Linked DNA regions of Homo sapiens: region 2 is linked to region 1. Evidence: promoter capture Hi-C in human tissues and cell types (Jung and others, 2019). All regions are on one chromosome and are shown on one strand. Each heading gives the region's core, a stretch centred on a gene start or on the middle of the fragment in contact. The rest is flanking DNA. Distances are from core to core; before and after follow the strand shown. Region 1 holds the start of MAN2B2 (mannosidase alpha class 2B member 2). Region 2 has its middle 50 kb from the start of PPP2R2C.

Region 1 (3,490 bases), core at 435-2,934:
AACAAGGCTGTGAATAGCCCGGTGGGGTTTTGGCCCTGTGGTTTATGCCAGCCTGGCCCTGGCCCTGGCTAGAACTGCCCCATTGAGTTTTCCACCTGGGTCTTTGCCAGGATACTGGGCCAACTGTGTCACCTGGTGACCTCATTACCTGGTATTTCTGCTGGTCCGAGGCGACGCCATCCCACCACAGCCGGAAAAACTCCTGCTCCACAGCGATGAACCGGCGCTGCTGGCCGCGGGCCAGCTCTTCCACCACTGAGGTGTAGACATTGGCGGCGTACGCCCGCATGCTTTCCTGGGGAGGGGACAGCATCATGCCAGCCCCGGTCCAACAAGACCAAGTGTCCCTGGGGCCCCTGCCATTCGCCAGGTGTGTCTGCATGGGGTTGGGGGCTCTGCCCTTCCTTCCCTGCTGCTCACCCCCCACACAGCTATTAGGCACTCGCTCCATACCAGGCTCTCCCCACTGGATGGGATCGTGCTCTCCTGGGGGAGAGGGACGGGGAAACAGACACCCTACATGGGCAGAGACAGGTGCCCTCCCAGCCCAGGGGTCAGGGACAGTTTCTCAGAGGGGTGAGCAAGCTGGGCCTTGAGTGTGCAATTTGGGGGGCTGGGCCCTGAGTGTGCCATTGAGGGGCAGCACAGGAAAGTCTTAGGCCTCAGTCGGGGTGTGGTCCAGTGACCCCAAAGGGGCCTGCTGGGGCTGAAATGAGGAAAGCTGGTGCTGAGAGGAAGAGCTCCCCAGGCTGTCCCTGGCGTCTAGGCGTCTGCCTCCCCAAGGCTGGGAGCTCCAAGGACCACAGCTGTAGTGTGTTCCCATCCGAGTCCCGAGGGCCCTGCACACAGGGTGCCCACAGAGTGCTTACATGAATGGAAGGAGCACCGAGCAGGGAGTCAGGAGGCATGAGGGTTATTCCCGAGCGACCTTGGGCAAGGCAGCAACCCTCTCTGGGCCTCGGTTTTCTCCTCTGGAAACTGGCTGTAGTGGGCATGCTTCCCCTACCCTTTACAGATGGGGAAACTGAGGCTTAGGGACCAAAGCCCCTCGCCCAAGGTCCTGAGCAGAACCAGGAGGTGACCACAGGTCCACCTTCACCCCTGTCCTGGGGGGCGGAGGACGCTGAGCTGGCCTCCAATATTCAGCCCCGCAGGGGACCAGCCCGGCCCCTTCCCAGCGGGCACCTGACATCCACCTGCTCTGAAGCCAGCCCCACCCTCTCCTGCTCCAGGCTTCCCTGGAAAATGGGTTACCACTGTCAACCCCCAAGCCCCTCCCCAGCCGGGAATGCAGGGGTCCCTCCAATCTGCACCACCCTCCAGAAGGGGAAATGGGGGTTCAGAGGCAGGAAGTGACTGGCCCGAAGTTAGCGACGCAACCAGTCAATGGCAGCGTGGGGTCCTGAACCCACTGAGCCTCCTTCTGCGCCGGCATCGGGCCCCGGGACGCAAACCCACACTCAGATCCCGCGGGGAGAGGGAAGCTGCAGCCTCAGGGGCGCGCGGGGCGTGGTCGGCACCTACCTGCACAGTGTAGACCCAGCCCACGTCCATGTGGCTGTGGGGCACCACGAAGGCCCGGATGGGGCCGGCGGACTGGACCCCTGGCGGTCGCAGCAACAGGAGCGGTGCCAGCAGCGGCAGCCAGCACAGCTGCCCCATCCCTGCGGCAGGCCGGGAAGGTGCCAGGCCCACTTCCGGGTCCGCGAGGGGCGGGGCGGCCGCGCGGGCGGGGACGCGGCCCATTGGCTGCGGGCGGGGGCGGGGCCCATTGGTTGCCGGCTGGACGCCGACCCCGGGAAGCTCGGGAAGGAGGAGCTGGAGGCGCGGGGCCCTCAGCGGGGCAGGGCGCCTGCTCTTTGCGGTTTAGCTCTCCATCCCCGTCTCCAGCTTTCTGGCCTTCCCTCCCTGTCCATCCTTTCAGCCCCATCTCCCCCAAGCCTGCCAGATCTCCCCCAACCAGAGGAGACCCCTCCTCGCCCAAAGCCCACGCTCTGGTGGTTCCTCTCGGAGCGTGTGCCTCTTCGCAATACCTGCATCCCGCCCTCTGGACTCGGCTCCGGGACTCTGAGGCTACCGTGCAAAATTCGGCTCAGCACGGACCCTGTGAGCTCTGCCACCAGGAACCTTCCCTGATAACCCTTTCCCTCCTCTCCCTGGCGTCGAAACCCCATCTGGGCGGCGCCATGGGGGGCTTGTTATGGGACTGTCTCCTTTTTTTTTTTTTGGACAGGATCTCACTCTGTCTCCCAGGCCGGAGTGCAGTGGCGCGATCAGGGCTCACTGCAGCCTTGACCTCCCGGGCCCAAGTGATCCTCCCACCTCAGCCTCCTGAGTAGCTGGGACCACAGGGGCACACTGCCACACCCAGCTAATTAAAAAAAAAATTTATAGAGATGGGGGCCTCACTATGTTGCCCAGGCTGGTCCCAAACTCCTGAGCTCAAGCGATCCTCCTGCCTCCGCCTCTCAAAGTGCTGGGATTACAGGCATAAACCAGCATGCCTGGCTCAACTGTCTCCATTTTAAGGAGGAGAACTGGCTTTCAGAGACAGTAACTGACTTGTCCAAGATCACGCAGTTAGTGGAGGAGCCAAGAGAAGCTTTCTGGGTTACTGGATGGTGACCTGGGGCGACATAGGTAACCTCGCTGAGCCTCAGTGAAATGGGTCCGATAGAGGAGCTGTGAACAAAGTAAGGATGCACCCAGGCTGAGAGCGTGAGCACAGCACCCCTTGCCTGCACTCAGGGGAGGTGCGGTCACATTGGTGCAGCCTGTTTGGGACTGTTGCCTGGAGTCAGCCCTGTCCACTACTCCCTGCCCAAGAAAGCAAGGGTCTGTGGCTTGGGGTTTACTGTCTGAGAACCACTTGGCTGTGCCCCTGCCTGGCATTTCCTAGCGGAACCAGAGCTGCAGCTCTGAGCAAAAGTGCTGGTCCTCTTGTCCATTATGTAACAAATGGAAACTGAGAACAGGTTCTCCAAGCAGGTCTCCCTCCTCCTTCTGTCCTGTCCACCCCCTGGGGACCCCTGCATCCCCATAGCCTCAGGTCAGATGGTCTGAGCCTGACGTGGACAGTACTCACTAACACATGTCCCCATGACCGGCCAGGCTCACAGCTGGGCTCCACTCTCCAGCCTCTGCAACCAGGTGCGGCCACGTGGCTAAGTGCTAGTCAATGGGATGGGTGGGGGCGGGCACTGTGCTCCTCTTCCAGGCTGGCCCCTAACAACCTCCTGTGGGTGAGCCCTGCTCTCTTACTCACCCACTGCTCCAGTGGAGGGCACTCCGAGGACCTCAGGGAGGTTAGAGCCACCAATGGAGGCTCTGAAGAACCACATGGAACCATGAGGAACCCAAAGAGCTGTGACAAGAGGGAGAAATAAGCTTTAATTGTGTTAAGCCACTGAGTTTATCGATAAGGCAGTGTCACAATCTTTGGCAGACTGTATCTGCCAAAGATGGGCTCCACAACATTACCCACCCCCCA
Region 2 (3,490 bases), core at 401-2,900, 52 kb after region 1:
AGTTTGTGATTAACGGAAGCCTGACTTAGGAGGGGCTCTTGTAACAAATAGGTGAAGCTCGGCCCAACCACAGCAGCTGAGCATCTGTCAATCCAGTCCCAGGTGGCCAACCATTCAAATAAGGCAAAGGCTGAGCTGTAACCAGTCAAGCTGTCTTGACCCTCTCTTCCGTTTTGTGTCCATAAATGCTGCCTGATCACGGTGCAGACGTGGATTCCTAGACCCTGTTCTGGTTCTGAGAGCAGCTGATTCGTGAATCGTTTTTTGCTCAATTAAACCTTAATTTTAACTTGTCATACTCAGTAAGCAGTCACTCCCATTCCTCCTCCTTCTAGTCCCTGGCAACCATGAGTCCACTTTCTGTTGCGGTGAATCTGCCTGTTCTGGACAGTGCATGGAAATGGAATCATGCAGTTCACTTACATTCAGCTTCTTTCATTTGGCCGAGTGTTTTCAAGGCTCATCCAGGATGTAGCTCGCATTAGAACTTCATTCCTTCTGACTGGGCACAGTGGCTCACGCCTGTAATTCCGGCACTTTGGGAGGCTGAGGCAGGCTGATCACTTGAGGTCAGGAGTTCGAGACCAGCCAGACCAACATGGTGAAACCCTGTCTCTACTAAAAAAAAAAAAAATACAAAATTAGCCAGGCCTGGTGGCAGGCACCTGTAATCCCAGCTACTAGGGAGGCTGAGGCAGGAGAATTGCTTCAACCTGGGAGGCGGAGGTTGCAGTGAACCGAGATCACGCCATTGCACTCCAGCCTGGTCAACAAGAGCGAAACTGTCTCAAAAAAACAAAAACAAAAACAAAAACAAAACTTCATTCCTTCTCCGGGCTGAATATGTTCCACTGTATGAGTGGACCACATTTTGCTTATCCATTCGTCTGTGGATGGATGGATACTTAGGGTGTTTCCATTGTTTGGCCATTATGAATAAGGCTGCTGGGAACATTCGCGTTCCAGTGTTCATGTGGATGTGTGTTTTCAGTGTTCCGTGATAGACACCCAGGAGTGGAATTGGTAGGTCACAGGATAATTCCAGGTTTAATTTGTTGCGGCGGTACCAAGCTTTTTTTGCGGTGGCCCTGCCGCTTCACCTGCCCCCAGCAGTGTGTGCAGGTCCCGCGTCTCTCCCAACAGCCAACACTCGCTTTGCATTTGGATTCCAGACATCCTCGTGGGTGTGCGTTGTCTCATTGTGACTTTGATTTGGATTTCCCTAATGACTCATCACGTTGAGCAACCTTTCCTGTGCATGCTGACCATTCGGTGAAATGTATGTGTCCAAGGCCACTGCCCATTTTGAAATTGGGTTGTTTGTCTTTTTGTTGTTATCATCCATGAGGAAAACAAGGATCAGAGAGGGTGAGTAACTTGCCCCAGGCCACACAGCAAGAAGGAGGGAAGACAGCCTTAGAAACCCAGTGGGCCTGACTCTGAAGTCTTGTGTTCTTTCTTTCAAACATAAGGGAGCTGGTGGTTGGGGCTAGGGAAGGCCTTTATTTCCTCTGGAGCAGCTGCTTGGGATGCATCCTGGATTTCTTGCCCCTCCGCAGCACTTGCCCCTCTGAGGGCACAGTCCTTGGACATGGTTCTCAACAGGACACTCCTGGGGAATGTGATCAGGAGGCCCTGGAACCGCACTTGGAGAAACACTGGCTTGGGGTTTGCCATAGGACGTATGACTTCTTGACCCAAGGCTTGAGTTCGGAGCCTCCCCGGTCCACCCCTGCCAGGCTGCTGTGCATCTGCGGCCTGCCCCTCTCCCTGCCTCAGCTTCCTCATCTGTGTAATAGTGAGAGAGGAATGGGATCCCACAGTGCTTAGAAAGCCATTAGGAGTATCAGGGGATGGTCCCTATTGGTGTGTCTGTCTGTTTGTCTGTCTCCCTCCTGGGCGGAGTGCCTCCAAAGTGGGAGCTGTGTCTGGCTCAGCAGATATTAGCCAAGAACCAGGGGCCAAGGAGAAGGGCCCCAGGGCAGACCCCTGCTGAGACCTCAGCATCCTGTGGTATCAGAAACTGGTGCAGCTGGTCCCTCCGTGCCCTGTGGCCACTTCTGGGTGCTCACGCAGCCAGCCCCTGGGCCCACATTTGAGCAGAACTCAGTGCTCAATGTGGTTCCTGTGGGGGAATCCACCATGCCCGGTGACTCCGGGGGCCCCAGCCCTGCCATCCCCGTGTGGGGAACATGGGGCTGGAGGGAACACAGGGTGGGAATTCTTGGAGCTCTGGAAGCAGGTGCTTGGGAAGCATGAGGGTCTTGGAATCTCAGGTCTGGATTCACTTGTGTCCCCAGCTGTGGGGTCTGGGGGGGCACATTGTGGACCTCGCCAGCCTCAATTTCCCACCTCTACAGTGAGGATTGGTAATGCCCGGGAGTGCTCCCAGCACGGCTGGGGTTATGTTCATTTGAACAACTACTGAATGACATCAGCCTTCCTGGGTACTTACATTTTGGGGTCTCAGAAAAGGGTTAAAGGCAGCAACTTTCTGCCTCTGTTGGAGTCCCAGATACCCTCTTCCTGGGGTAGGGCAGACTCCAGGCCAAGGGACCAGGAAAGGCAGGGAGAAGGCAGGAGAGTGGGTGGGAGGGAGCTGTGAGTGGCCGGGAGAGTGCAGGCAGGAGCGGTGCATTTCACAGAGACAGGCCCATCGGGTGAGGTTTGGAAACAACACTTCTCTGTTCCCAGAGCTCAGTGGCCCCCACTTGTCATGGCCCCCAAAGCCATTGGCTTAGGGGCCCCCTTGCCTCTTGGGGAGAACAGAACCCAATAAGAGCAAAGTAGTCACCGCTGGAGGCAGGTTTAGTGGGTGGCTCTGGAGGCAGATGGCCTGGTGTGCTTCCCGGCTCTTCCGTGAGCTGTGCCTCAGTTTCCTCATTTGTAATATGAGGGTAGCAATAATTCCTCCCTCATAGCTAGCTCTTGGATGGTAGTAAATGCTCACAAATGGGCTGTTCTGCAGATGCAGTGTGTGGCAAGGGAGAGTGGCCCCCTGGAAAGGGGACCGGTGGCCAGTCCAGGGGAAGCGGTACCAGCTCCTGTGTAAGTGCCTCCTACGTATGAACTCACATCACCTCGAGGGAGGAGAGGAGGGCCCTGGAGGGGTGGGACGTGGGTTAGGGCTCCTGAGACGACTCCTAAGAAGTGCATACGCAGGGAGATGAAGCCACACTGAATGGGTGGGCTCCTCTCTGGAGCACTGGGAGGAAGCCACTGTGTGGGGTGTCCCTTGTTAGGGCCTTGAGGGGGCTCAATGAATGGCAGAAGCTTCTAACCCACCTGAATGATACATTGAAGTCCCCGCTTTCTGGCTAGATCATGGGAGAGGGGAGCCCTGGTGAATGAGAAGATCCTGGAGGCAGTTGGTAAAGAGTGCGTGTCTAATTGATGGTAGCTCATGTGAGCAGTGGTTTACGACCAGCTGAACACAACATACAAGTGGCAGGATAAAGCCCCAAAAGCCCTCACCAGCAGGTTTGCCTAG

The links. The method cuts DNA at HindIII sites, captures the fragments that hold promoters and counts their contacts. A contact is called where the count stands out against the background at its distance.
Region 2: a fragment that was not itself captured here is called in contact with the fragment with the promoter of MAN2B2 in region 1 in 2 of the 25 tissues and cell types used here (bladder and dorsolateral prefrontal cortex).

What each region holds. Positions count from the first base shown.
Region 1 is chr4:6,573,383-6,576,872 of GRCh38, reverse strand. It overlaps MAN2B2 (mannosidase alpha class 2B member 2), which reads right to left and starts at 1,684. Exons shown (of 19, transcript NM_015274.3): 1 at 1,525-1,684; 2 at 149-295. The coding sequence starts at 1,662. LOC105374365 (a long non-coding RNA gene) reads right to left here. Exons shown (of 3, transcript XR_925098.3): 2 at 3,266-3,364; 3 at 2,535-2,682. RefSeq lists a silencer at 1,435-1,894 and enhancers at 1,183-1,951, 1,952-2,719, 2,720-3,488. The HindIII fragment of the contact is 15,458 bases long and covers 1-2,995 here.
Region 2 is chr4:6,521,232-6,524,721 of GRCh38, reverse strand. It overlaps a transcript of PPP2R2C not described here. Among named protein-coding and RNA genes, the nearest start is that of PPP2R2C, 50 kb to the right of the region's middle. The HindIII fragment of the contact is 6,467 bases long and covers 1-3,490 here.